3 separate regions of the Homo sapiens genome follow, and all the other regions are linked to region 3. Evidence: promoter capture Hi-C in 16 types of primary human blood cells and fetal thymus (Javierre and others, 2016). All regions are on one chromosome and are shown on one strand. The core of a region is centred on a gene start or on the middle of the fragment in contact, and the rest is flanking DNA. Distances in the headings are between cores, read along the strand shown. Region 1 overlaps MSRB3 (methionine sulfoxide reductase B3). Region 2 has its middle 42 kb from the start of LLPH. Region 3 holds the start of HMGA2 (high mobility group AT-hook 2).

What was found. The method cuts DNA at HindIII sites, captures the fragments that hold promoters and counts their contacts. A CHiCAGO score of 5 or more calls a contact.
Region 1: a fragment that was not itself captured here is called in contact with the fragment with the promoter of HMGA2 in region 3 in 1 of 17 cell types (endothelial precursors); the score reaches 7.0 in endothelial precursors.
Region 2: a fragment that was not itself captured here is called in contact with the fragment with the promoter of HMGA2 in region 3 in 1 of 17 cell types (endothelial precursors); the score reaches 6.2 in endothelial precursors.

Annotation. Positions count from the first base shown.
Region 1 is chr12:65,320,910-65,325,180 of GRCh38, reverse strand. The region is part of intron 2 of MSRB3 (methionine sulfoxide reductase B3); the gene reads right to left. Among named protein-coding and RNA genes, the nearest start is that of MSRB3, 44 kb to the right of the region's middle. The HindIII fragment of the contact is 478 bases long and covers 1,395-1,872 here.
Region 2 is chr12:66,086,925-66,091,233 of GRCh38, reverse strand. No RefSeq gene overlaps it. Among named protein-coding and RNA genes, the nearest start is that of LLPH, 42 kb to the left of the region's middle. The HindIII fragment of the contact is 505 bases long and covers 2,207-2,711 here.
Region 3 is chr12:65,822,204-65,826,863 of GRCh38, reverse strand. It overlaps HMGA2 (high mobility group AT-hook 2), which reads right to left and starts at 2,381. Exons shown (of 5, transcript NM_003483.6): 1 at 1,483-2,381. The coding sequence starts at 1,593. It also overlaps the pseudogene RPSAP52. RefSeq lists an enhancer at 654-1,261. The HindIII fragment of the contact is 7,944 bases long and covers 1-4,660 here.

The sequences.
Region 1 (4,271 bases), core at 384-2,883, 500 kb after region 3:
CTCAATAGCTTGAATGCAAAGTGGCTCTTTCTTAAATAATCAGTCAACAGTGATAGGTGAGTTTCTGCTTAATTCAGTACAGACTTCTTAAAAATTATTTTATTCTCATGTGTTTGTTGGAAGGGTTGTATCTTAGTTAATACTGTCACAAAATCATTAAATGCAAACTTAACATGACAAAATGACTTGGTTAAAATTATTCTTTTCAATGGCATAATTAAAATATGTACAATTAAAATCAAACAATTCTATCCAAAATATTTTTGTTAATATACGTTCATTCATACAAAAAGACCAATTGTGTTCCCAAAGTTGAGAGAACTAAGCTACCCATCTGTATGTCATTTAGTACAAGAGAAGCAACTGCAGGTTTAAATTACATGGTATTGGATTGCAATTTCCTAACATTGGATGCTTTTCTGCCTTTTTACCTTGAGTCATTTACTAAGGAGTGTTCATAAAAAGTAGCTTAAAGCACAGATGCTTGCAAATCATTTAGGCAAAGATGTTTCTCTCTTTTTCATTCTCCCTCTCTCATGAATCTCTCTTTTCCGAAGAGAATAAAACCGTTGGTCAGTATTGATGAACCATGTCAAGTATTTGTACAAGAAAAAAAGGTAAAATTGAAAACATCTGATTGAAGTAAATAATACAAACATAAAAGCTTTACTAGTGAATGAAGGGTATTGAAGAGACTTTATTTCATAGATTAGAAATTACTTTTGATCTAAACATTCTTAAAAACAGATTGTTTTCCACTATGAAACATCTCATTAACTGTGCTACAGAGACCTCGTTTTAATGGCAAGCCTTGAAAGAGTGCTGCTGTACTCCTTTGTTAGTCTCCGTCTTATTTGGGAGGGGAATAAAGATTTCATTCCAGCTTTCTTTGTTTGTCTTTCAAGAACCACTAAAGCAGTATTCACACAAATTTTGTAGGAATGTGCCCTATGTCATAGCCTACAAATTATTTGGTTTTGGTGCACTTAAAGGTCATCTTCCAAATTAGCAAAATTTTTTTACATCCTGGCTTTTCAACCTTAAGTATAAATATTGTTTCCTAACTGTAAGTGAGGTTTGTCCTTTAAGAAATACTAGTGATTATTTAAAGTTGTCAAACTTTGTACATTTTCATTCTTTGGTTATACTATATTCTCAAAATAATTAGGTTTTCAAAGTATATCTAATACCAAAAGGAAATATATGTAGACTAGAAACAACTATTGTGATTTTACATTAAACAATTCAATGAGAAGTTGGTCAGATTTTAATAAATATCTTGCCACACCATTTAATAATAATAATATACTTCCTGGACAATTTAAAGCTATACTATTACATTAGCCCTTCTATCATCAGAACCAAATATTGGTATATATAAACACAGAAAAGCTTCACTTTTGTCTCTTATTTCCCTTCTCCCTATCAGACTCACTTTTCTAAAGTCATATGGTGCCACTGTTAATCTTGAAAAAATCATTTCATTTTGAAATTCTGGAGTAATTCATTGGATGGTTTCCCTTTACTATCTTCACTTAGGTACTGTAATTTTCTTATTACACAGGGTAATTTAACATTAGTATTATATGACATCTGTTCAATGACCTCTAAATTGGCTTAGAAGTATGTTTGGGAAAGATTTTTCCCTTTATTTAAATGTTTAATAGTGTCTTTTGAAGGCACAAGTGAGTGTGTGTGTACACACATGTAACACAATTACATATTTGAGGAGATAATATTGCCATTTTGGTATCTAATCATAACACCGTTCCTTACAGAGTAACTTTGAGATAGATCAGTTCCATCTTGAACATAGTCCAAGGATATTTTATTTATTGAAATATGTCCAAAGTCTCTTTTTATAGCGAAGCTTGTCCTGTGTTGTTGCCTCAAGGCCAGTATTGTTTCGAAGCCCCAGTATGAAGCTCTTGCTATTAGTACAAATAAACGTACAGCAACAGTTTGCTTTGTGGCTCTGCCTGCTTCCCAGCCACGTGACCTGAAGCAAGTCACCTTTGCTATGTGTTGCCACCCTCAAAGATCTGCTATAAGGATCACAGCCATTAGCACTTACTTCATTTTGATTACAGTGAATTCTGAGGTTAAAATTGTATTTTAAAAGATAGCCAGGTCCAGTATTTAGTGTGCAGCAATCTTTTATTGGTAATTCTTTTTCTATAATAATTCCCTGGGAACAGTATTTTCCTCACACCTTATCTTGTTTTTATGATTAAAGTGGGAAATGAAGGAAGAAAATAAAACTAAAATTTGAGTCCTCCTACATGCCAGGCACATGTCTAGGCACTTTCACATAAATACATTTAATCTTCTCAATAATTCTAGAACGTGGCTGTCATGCCCATTTTACAGATACAGAAACTGAGGCGTGGAGAGGTTATAACATACCTTATTAAGGACAAACAGCAAGTAGACTTATCAACTCAAACCCAGGGCTGTCTGACTGCAAAACTCATAGTTGTTATATTTTCTTTCTTCTTCTTTTTTTTTTTTTTTTTTTTTGAGATGGAGTCTCGCTCTGTCACCCAGGCTGGAGTCCAGTGGTGTGAGTTCAGCTCACTGCAACCTCTGCATTTCGGATTCAAGCGATTCTCCTGCCTCAGCCTCAGCCTCCAGAGTGGCTGGGATTACAGACGCCCACCACCACACCCGGGTAATTTTTGTATTTTTGGTAGAGATGGGGTTTCGACATGATGGCCAGGTCTCGAACTCCTGACCTCAGGTGATCTGCCCGCCTCGGCCTCCCAAAGTGCTGGGATTACAGGTGTGAGCCACCACACCCAGCCAGTCATCATATTTTGTCAGGAAAAATTATGTAACAACTTTTCTTCTTTCTTCTCTAACTATACAATAACTTTCAGCTTAAAAACTAACAAAATAATAAGGGGGAAAAAGTAATAATCACCTCAGTACATCAGAAAAGTTACATACATTTATCTATTAGCCAATGTCTCTTTTCCCTGTATTTACTCCTTCAACATAGGGTCAGTGACAAGTTTCATACAGGATTCTCACAAAGTCTATGAAACGTTGAAAGGCTTTTTTAACTTCCTATTAAGAAGTAAATTAGATCTGTTACCTAAACCTTAGAGTACTTTTAAGTCATAAATTTTATATTTCGGTGTGAAAAATCAAAACAAAACAAAACCTAAGGATCCCATAACTTTAATTTTGGTTCTAGAATCAGAAAAAACGAAACTATTAAATATTTTCCCAAGATAATAAATGAATAAGAGATAAGAATGTCTTGTTTTGCTTTGAGTTTAGTAGGTTAAAACAGTAAAGTTCATGTTGAAATACCTTGCTGCTATATTTAAAGGTGGTATACTTTATTTTTCACTGTAAATTTGGTTGGTTATTAGTTTGTCACTGGAAAACTAAGCAAATTTTTACTTCAGGCATAGTATAGTGTTAGAATTTCTAAATAATTGGCCATTTGGAAAAGTCAAATTTAGACCATTTTTTAGAATAAAATATAAAATATATACCATAACTATCATTTTTTGTTTGTTTGCATTCTAGTAATTCAATAAAGGCTTTAAGATAAGACAAACCTACAAAGCATGGAGGAAGAAAAGCTCCTATATTTGTAGAACCATACCTAATTCTGATTTTTCTCTCAAAGTAGACATATATAGGAAAAACATTCCTGAGATTAACATACAGTCTAAGATGTCAGGACACTTTTGCTTCAGTCCTCTGGTTTCCACAAAACTAGAGCTGCAGGGTTTACTTTGAGGACCACTGATCCAAGATTTTTTCTTAAATTAAGTCATCAAAAATGTTGAGTGTTTACAAAGTGTCAGACACTATGCTAAGTAAGATATATACATTAGTTCAATAATTATTTATTGAGTACCTATTATCTGCTGGCACTATTCTAAGTACTTAGGATACTTTCCTGGAGTACTAAATAGATCTAAGTACTTAGATCTACTTTCCTGGAGCTCCCATTCCAGCAGGAGTAAGGGAAGACAGACAAACTACAATGAAAATAAGTAAGTAAATTATATAGTCTCTTAGAAGGTGGTAAGTATTCAGGAAGGAAAAAGGAAAACTGGAGGACTGGGAGTGAAAGGAATAAGGATTATAATCTTAAATAGAGTGGCCAAAGAAGTCTCACTGAGGTGATATTTGAGCAAAGCCCTGAAGGAGGAGAGGAAGGTGTCTGTGCTGATCTCTGAAGGAAGAGCTTTCCGAACACATGGCAGGAATGATCAATGCAAGAGATGAAAACACTAACAAGTTCATAT
Region 2 (4,309 bases), core at 1,210-3,709, 260 kb before region 3:
GTGGTTTTTGCCATTAAAAGTAATGCAAAATTGCAATTGCTTTTGCACCAACCTAATATTAAAACCTCAACTGCTTTTGCACCAACTTATTATTATATAGTAGAGAGGCCAGAAAGTCTCAATTTATGGACTAGGAAACTGAGGTAAAGAAAATGCTTTTGCAAGGTCACCCAGATGGTGATTCAGGGAGGTTTCACGGCGAGGCAGCCTAATCCTGGAGTTCAAGCTCTTACTCTCTTCTAAATACCAGACAGGTTCGATTTTTGTTATTACTGCTCTTTTATTTTTGTACTTCTCTTGGATTATGGAGCTGTCAGTTGCACTGGGAGTTGATTTCGAGCCAAGTAATGATACAGACAATGCTGAATAACAATTGCTTCTGAATTCTTTCAGGATATGGACCACTTACTGATACCCTGCGTCCATTCCCAGCTCTCAGACTAACATGCAACATCAGTACAAGGTGTGGAGGTACTGGTCAGACATTCAATTTTCAAAAAAGCTGCCTTTAAGGCACCTATTTCTTTTGTTACTAAGAATTTTTTTTTTCAAAAACAGTATTCATCTATGTGGCTTCCATTTTGTTTTTTAACCTCCCTGGGCCTCTTTTTATGAATCTGTATTCAGAAGGGTTGCACAAGATGTCTTATAATATTCCTTCCAGCTCTGACCTGCTGAGTTTCTCAATGACTGGATAATGATTTTATTATTTCGATTCCTCTCCAGGAATCTTCCTCTCCCAACCTGCCCTTTGGCATTTTCATTTTTTTCCCTCTTGAAATTGCGTCCCTTTCCCTCTTTCTCTATCTTTTCTCTGTTGATTTTTTTCCCTTATGGCTTTTCCTCACTTCCTTTTTTCCTTCCTCTTTCCTTCAACTTCCTTTCTCTGCCACTTTTTCTCTCTTGACTTCATCCCCTCACCTCCTCTCGTCTCTCTGATGATTTCTCTCTTTTCCCCTCTCTCTCTTCTCTGGATATTTTCTTCTCTCTTTCCCTTCATCACGCCTTTCTTTCTTTCATTGAACTCAACATGCCTTAATTTTCCTTTGCTGTACTCTTTAGATCCCAGCAGATCCTTGGAATATAACAGGAAATCAGTTACAGGAAATTCAGAACGTGTGGTACCTTTCTTTAGAAAAAGACCAATGAATGCTTGGAATAGCAGGAAGTTTAGGCACTGAATAGATTACCTTAGTTTCTCTGTGCTGTGCAGATAAGCTCATTGTTCTAACTCAATAGAGGCATTTTTTGTTTCCTGGATGTGCCATGTTTCTGGTGTTCTTCTAGAATCACTGGGCTCCTTCTTGTAGTAAAAACAGTACTTTCAAATTGTTAGCTTTATTTGGAAAACTTTAAAGATAATCTTTAAAAGCCCCAGGCTAAAACTCGCACCTCTATTATGTTCCTTTATCCAGTCAAATAGTTGCAAATTATATGAGCTGGATTTGGATCCTGAATGGACACAACAGAAGATGTCAATATTTTATCTTGTATTCTTTCTCTGAGCTTCACAAATCTGTTTTGTATCCCTTCATTTTTGGTTAAATTATTGAAGACATATCATTTTCTGAAAGTCTTCTTAGTCCAGATTTCTTAGGCAGAAAAACCGCCATCTTGTTTTGGATAATGAAACCTCCGTCTACCATACTGACATGTGAAGTATTAGTTGGTTTGTAGCAGTGTTTTCATCATCATCAAATCTTTCGGGACACATCCATTTTTTTCTATGTCTCTTTTCTGTGCCAACTGAAGTGAGACTGGCTCTTTAAGATAAAACAATGTTTGTGAACAACCTTTATTTTTTAAATCACTTATGCTTGTAGAATGTGTTGTTTAAAATTCTCTTTGGGGTCCAGGACTTTATGCTGTATGCTCTTGGAAACACCACGGTCTTTTCCAAGTTTCTATTCTTATTTCTCAGGGAGAGAGACTAATTGTTAAAATGATCAGTATGCTTCTGATATTGTTGCATAAGTCATGTGAATAGGGGCCCTGCTATGTTGCCCAATCTGCCCTCGAAATCCTGGGCTCAAGTGATCCTCCAGCCTCGGCCTCCCAAGTATCTGGGAAGACAGGCGCATGCCACTGTGCTGGGCTCATGTGAATATTTTTAAGGACATACAAATAAACCTGTGTTTGATGTAAAGGGTGAAGACATTATCTTTGATTCCCAATTTCTACCAATTTTTTTTTTTTTACATAAGCTTTTTTTAGCCACCTCAGGCAATCACAGCATTTCAAAGGGGCTAGCTTGATACTTGGTTGAAGAGGGACTCTATCCTCCTCTGAATCTTGGATTCTAGCCTCAACATACACATCAGGTTTGGAATTTAATTTAATTCTTGGAAAATGGTTTCTTCATAAATTTTTTTTAATAAAAAAGAGATTTTAGAAGTATGATCAGGTGGTCTCCACACAGAGACATACAGGACACTTCCTGATTTGTGGACAACCCCCTTGGGTAAAACGGCCATGATTGCTCAGTCCCCAGCTTCAACAACAACTGGGGCAGCTCTGAAACCCTCTGGCTGTGGCCGAGGTGGACTCACCTTCAAAAGCGTCAAGGCCGGTGGGAGCTCTGAACTCAGAGCAGCTCCACAGGGGGCTGGGCAGGATGATAAATGGATTCGTTATTGTTGTGTGGAATGTCCACAAGAACCCTTTTGCACCTGAGACACAGAAAACATTAAAGGGGCCGGGCGGCACAAGCTTGGCTTCTGAAAGATAAAATACCATAAAATGAGCATGCAGTCATTGGGCAGATCATGAAGGAGGAAGGCATTGGACCTGCTCTCCAGGAAGGGACCTCAAGAGAGAACTTGCCAAAAAATCTCTTGGGAAGGTGCACATCTTCTGCAGCCTGCAGTAACCTCCTGGCTTCTGCAGGGCAGAAAGGAGGCCTCTTTTTTCAGAGAGATGGCTGTGTTGGCACCAACACACAACCCCTTCCCTCGTTTCTCATGGGCATCACTTTACTGGGAATGCTGTATGCTCCCAGGATGGTATTTCCATGAAGACATAGTTGGCCAGTCGTGCTCCCTATCCTCAACCTGATACTCAGACAGTCCCAGACAGAGCAAGGCATCGGGTTGCAGTTACACAGCAATCTGATGTGACAGGGCAGTACGCAGCTCAGGCCTCGTGTCATTAGAAACATCGCTGTTCAACGAGGCTCGGTGGCTCACGCCTGTAATCCCAGCACTTTGGGAGGCTGAGGCGGGTGGATCACCTGAGGTCAGGAATTCAAGACCAGCCTGGCCAACATGGTGAAACCCGGTCTCTACTAAAAATACAAAAATTAGCCAGGCATGGTGGCACACGCCTGTAATCCCAACTACTCAGGAGGCTGAGGCAGGATAATCGCTTGAACCCAGGAGGCGGAGGTTGTCATGAGCAGAGATCACGCCATTGCACTCCAGCCTGGGGGACAGAGCAAGATTCTGTCAAAAAAAAAAAAAAAAAAAAGAAGAAAGAAAGATCGCTGTTCAAAAACAAAATGCCTTCTCATTCTAATAAAACTCAACAATCTGGATGTCCTTCTCTGAAAAAGGAAATCAACACAGATGGCATTATCTTAAAATTGGGCCACCATTGAAGCTGTGGATCAGTGGCAACATGGAGTTTGGTTCCTACCGAAAACAAAACTGTCCCAATCCAGAGTCGGCCAGTAGATGGCACCCTGAGCATCTGACATAAAATCTAAGGCTGAGAATATTTATCTTCACCAAAGCGCTTCTCAAAACATTAAGCAAAACTTTGACTGAAACGCAACCGTATTTGGACAAGCAGGTTTATTTTACTTTAGTGCTGTGTTATTAGAAACATACATATGTGTGTGTATATATTTTACTATCAAACCCTAAAGTTATGGAAAATATCCTTGATGGTTAGGATGGACTGTAAACTTTTACAGTATTATTTGCAGGCAGATTTTTCAATTTCTTATTTAAGCCAGCTTTTTCTTAATATGAGGTTTAGTGGTTATGTGTCATACCAATGCTCAGGAAAACTCAGGAGAATATTTTTGGTTATCTAAATACCCCTGTGAAAGAAACGCACTCATAGGAAGAAAGAGAAATGCAGTGCGATACTTTGTGTGTTTTTAAAGAACAACTGAAATAAATGTTTCTATTTTGCTATATGCATCTATGTGGAATTATGTACACAAACACGTACAGCAAGATCAAGATGAGAAGATATATGGATATAGTTTAGTATAGGAATGCCACTCTATCTCAGATTCCAGCCCACACTCAAACCTAAAGGTTTTAGAGTAGGGAATAACTCTTAGAATTTAGTGATAGATATA
Region 3 (4,660 bases), core at 1,132-3,631:
GAACTCTGCCTTAACTCAAAGGTAAAGTATCCAATCACCTCCAGACCCCATTGTAATTTCTTTTGGATTTTTTTTTTTTTTTTGGAGGGGGGGCAATTAGTGAGTTAGAACTGGGTGGCGGGTGGGAAACAAGTGGGGGAGGGCAGAGACTTCCTGGGAGGTGTAAAACAGGATTCAAATGCGGTGTAAAGTGTCGCTTGGGCAGAGCGGGAAAACTCAGGGGCCTCTAGATCGGCTTGTTTCCTTTGATGATTTCAAAAAGGTACAACTCTCAATTTTTCTAAAATGCACTGGCAAGCAAACATTGTTCAGTTTCCCCACCTTGCTCTCGGACAACTTTGGGACTCTAGGATTATTTTCTAATCGGCGTGTTTGCCATGAAGGAAGCGATTTAAGACTAAGCAGAGAGCAAGTTTTAAAGCCCGAGAAAGTGGAGTTTAAATGTTCTCAATAGACATATCCCGCTCCAACTCTGCCCGCCGCGGCTTGGAAATTACAGCGAACAAAACCCCCAGCCCTGCGCGCTGAGCGCAGCTCTGCAAGCGCCGGCTGCACGCTTAATTGGTTGCATCCGCAGACAAAACCCTCCACTCCGCAGGGTCCCGGGCGCCCCTCGATCGTCCCCTACTCAACCCCCGGCCACTGGCCTTGGAGAAGAGCATTTAATGGCTGCAGCTCTGAGGCGCGAGATCCAGGGGCAAAAGGGGGACCGGGCCCCTGACAAGGAAGCGACCCTGGCTACCCTGCACTCTCTTGGACACTCCTTTCAACGCGCCCTTAGCTGGGCGAGTTAACCCCGTCCTGCGGGGAACCAGGCTCCCCGTAGCCCCTGCCCCGGGCTCCCTCCGGCGGCCGCCGCATATTTAAAGAGCCCAAAAAGGACCAGGCAGCCGGGTCTCCATGCGTTCTTTGTCGGGAGGGCGCGAGTCTTGGGCCACCGAGAGCTTGGAGGAGGGCGCCAAGGGGGCGGCTGCGGCGCGCCAGCCCCCGACCCGCGAGCAGCCCCGGGAGGCGGGAGAAAGAGCCTCCGGCCCCCAAGACTCTAGCCCCTTCAGCCCAGATCGGCCGAAGCGCCCGGGTCCCCGGCACCTCCTTCCTCCCGGGCAGTTGCAAAAGCAACTCGGAAAGCGCCTGCGAGCCCGGGTTTGTCGGATCCCGGTCGCTTCCAGTCACTGGGCGACACCGCGCCACTCGGGGCCGTGCACAATAGCGAAAGTCCGAGGACGCGCTTCGCCCGACCCCACCTCCCGCCTTCCCCGGGCCGCCCGCCGCGGCTCCCCACCTCCCCGCCCGGAGGGTTGCTGGCGCCCCGGGGCCGCGCGGCGCACTCGTGGGGTCTGCGCCGCTCCCCCCGGCCGGCCGGCGGGCAGTGTGCGACGGCCGCGGCGACTGGGCTCCCGCACTCCGGCCGCCCCGCGCGTGTCTGGGCCCCGGCAGTGGGGACGGGGTGGGCTGGTGCCCCCACCGCGCCCTCGTACTGACTTGCTGCTGCTTCCTGGGGCGGCCGCGTCCTCTCTTCTGAGGCGCTGGGGCGGCAGGTTGTCCCTGGGCTGAAGTGGACGGCTGCCCCGCGCCCTCACCGCGTGCGCTCATCCTGCCTCCCGCCGCCGCTACCGCCGCTGCAGCCGCTTCGCCTCGACCGCCCCGGAGCTGCCCAGCACCTTTCGGGAGATGAGGTGATAGGGCTGGGGACGCCGGCGGGGCGAGCGCGAGCTGGCGGGCTGCGAGGGCTGCTGTTGCTTAGGCTGCCGCCGCTGCCACCATCAACACCGGACGTCCAGCGGCTGCCAAAAAGAGAAGAGGGGAGGAGGAGGAGGAGAGGAGGAGGCGCTGCCGGTGGCGGCGGCGGCGGTGGGTGGGTGCCGGAGGTGGAGGTGGCGGTGGAGGTGGAGGTAGCAAGAGGAGGAGGGAAGCGAGGGAGAAGGAAGAGAGGCTTTGAGGTCGCAGAGGCTCCTCTCGCGGGTTGGGATCAGGAGTTGCGGGCACCGGGAGCACTTCGGAAGCGGCTTGGAAAGGGAAGAGACTTGGAGTGAATTGTGTCCCTTGAAATGTTAGGCGGGGAAAGAATTCCTCCTCCTCTTCCCCCCACCCTGCGAGAGAGAGAGAGAGAGAGAGAGAGAGAGAGAGAGAGAGAGAGAGAGAGAGAGAGAAGAGATTGAGATTGAAAGTGCCTTGGGCAGTCGGAAAGCAAAGGAGGATGGGGAGACTCCGCCGGGATAGGGTCGGGCACGGAGCACAGGCAGAGGACAGAGTAGTGGGTGGCACCGCGCCTCCTAGGGTGGCGGGAGCAGGCAGCGGCGGCACCGGAGAGTCGGAGGGGGACGGGCTGCTAGCTCCTGAGTCTTGCACCAAGCGCGCGCTGCCCGGGCTGGAAGTTTTCTGAGTTCCTGCCCCAAGATTCAAGTGGGATGAGTGTGTGTGAGTGTGTGTGAGTGTGAGTGTGTGTGGTGTGTGTGCGTGCACGCGCTTGCGCTTGGGGAGGGGGTGGTGGTGGGGGGAGTGCCCACCTCTAATCGTGGGCGGATAAAGGGGAGGGGGTTGCGCAGGAAGAAAAGTATGAGGAGGAGGGAGGCCAGGCGGACCGCCGAGCCAAGGCGCCTGGCTGCTAGCCAGAGGCAGCGTTCGAAATACAACTGCCTCGGCGGCGGCGGCGCCCGGGTGCCACCCGGAGCCCCGCTCACGTGCTCCCGCCCGGCGGCGGGGTTAAAGGGACAGGCCGGGGATCCCGGGCTGGCTCGCCGTGGGCCTAGCTCCACCCGCCTCTCGAGGTCACCCCTGGGCAGTTGTCCTGGGAAGGCGCGGGAACGTGACTGTCCCGGAGCCACGTTTCGGGGCTTGGCCTTTACCTGCGCCTCTACCGTGCCGAGCCAACACTTTGCAGGAAGCGTCTAGGCTGCACCTCAGGCAGCGCACCGGTTCACTGTGAGTGGGAAGGGACTGCAGTGGAGTGGGAGAGGTCCCCTGACAGCCGTACTCCGCCTCGGAATGCCCTCACCACAGAGCCTGCGGGCGGGCGAGCGCGCACATACACGGAGACATGCATGCAGATACACACGAACACGCGTGTAAGCACATGCACGCAGATACACGTGGACACGGGGGCATTCATGCGCTGGTAAACACCCGCATTTACACACACACACATACACACAGGCACGCAGATAGACATGCACATTCGCAGACACATGCAAACAATGTGCACACACAGAGCGCCCCAGCTTCTTCATTGAACTTTTTTCTCCAGGAAAGACTAGAGGCAACCGAAGTTCCCTCCCCATCCCCCTCCCCGGGAATCCGATGTTCCCAGGGTAAAGGGCACCTTGTAGATTCCTAACACCACAATTGCACTCACTGCCCAACTCTCCCTTCAGTTTACCTCGATTTAACCTTCTGCCTGAGAACTCTCTTTCTGCCAAGTCCTAATTTTATGGCCTGGGCTGTTCTGAGTTATGTGAACACCATAATGGCCACAGTCCGTTTTTAAAAGGTGGAGTACATTTTTAAATGTACCTCTTTTCATCCTTGAATAACACAAAACTCTGAAAAAATTAGGTTCAGATTTTCACACATCACACCCAAAATTATTTTGGACTAATTCCAAAATAAAAACTTTCACCTGGGGAAGAATTTATTTTTTTCAAAGATACAGACCACCGTGGAATAAAAACGCCTACTTTGCAGCCCTAAGCAGGAGTTAGGCACCGCCAGGTTCCGCTGTGCATGTGGAGGAGGCGCGTGTAAATGTCTGCTTTGGCGCGGCAGCGCTGATTGGTCCGCGTTGCCATTTTAAATCCATTTCCAGCTGCCCTTTGCAGAGCTGGGACACTTTGCTGCACGTTGAGTGCTCTGCAGGAACCCAGGGTTTCTGCTGGGTCTGGGAACGCTTAGCTGTAATGGAGAGAGAGAGCCTCCATCCCTCCGGATGGAGCCCAGCAGCTGACTGGGGAGGGAGGGGTCTAACAGGAACCAAAGGTTTTCTGTCAGGGCTTGGCTCAAAGATGGTATCTTCATCAAAGGGATTGAAGTTTCACCTAACGATTACAGTGACATTTCCTAACTGCCAATCGTGCACATTTAAAAACTATCACATATTTGCACTGTGGTGTGCACATTTCACATACACGTACAAAATAGGTTTTTGGGTTTGTGTTGTTTGCTCACTTTTTGCCAGGAGTAGAGAGAAATTCTGAAGGTGAATGCAGGGGAGTCACTGAGGAGTTCAGCCAGCCAGTTTTGTGCTGTATACCTCATTATATCCTAGGATTTTTTTTTTTTTGGTAACGTGTACAGAGGTCAGCAAAGAGCAGATTCCAAAATTTTGTTTTTGCGTTAATCTTTGAATATAAGAGAAGCACAGAAAAATTGGGGGTGGGGGAATATACAGCCACTTGTTTTCAGGCTGCTATCATTTTGCTATTAGACTATTTGACCCCTTTTGAATTTATAACAAGGGTATAAAACAAATATTGTATCAAGTTCTACTTAAATCAATTTTATATATTTTCATTCTTTGGAAGCTGTATTTAATTTTTCAGAATTCTGTATACTTTCTGTAGGTGAAACATTAAAATTTGTTGTAATCTTTGAAATTATTGAGACTTTTACTATTCAAAAAGGATTCTCATATATTTTTAAAATAATGTTAAATGGTTAGATTTTA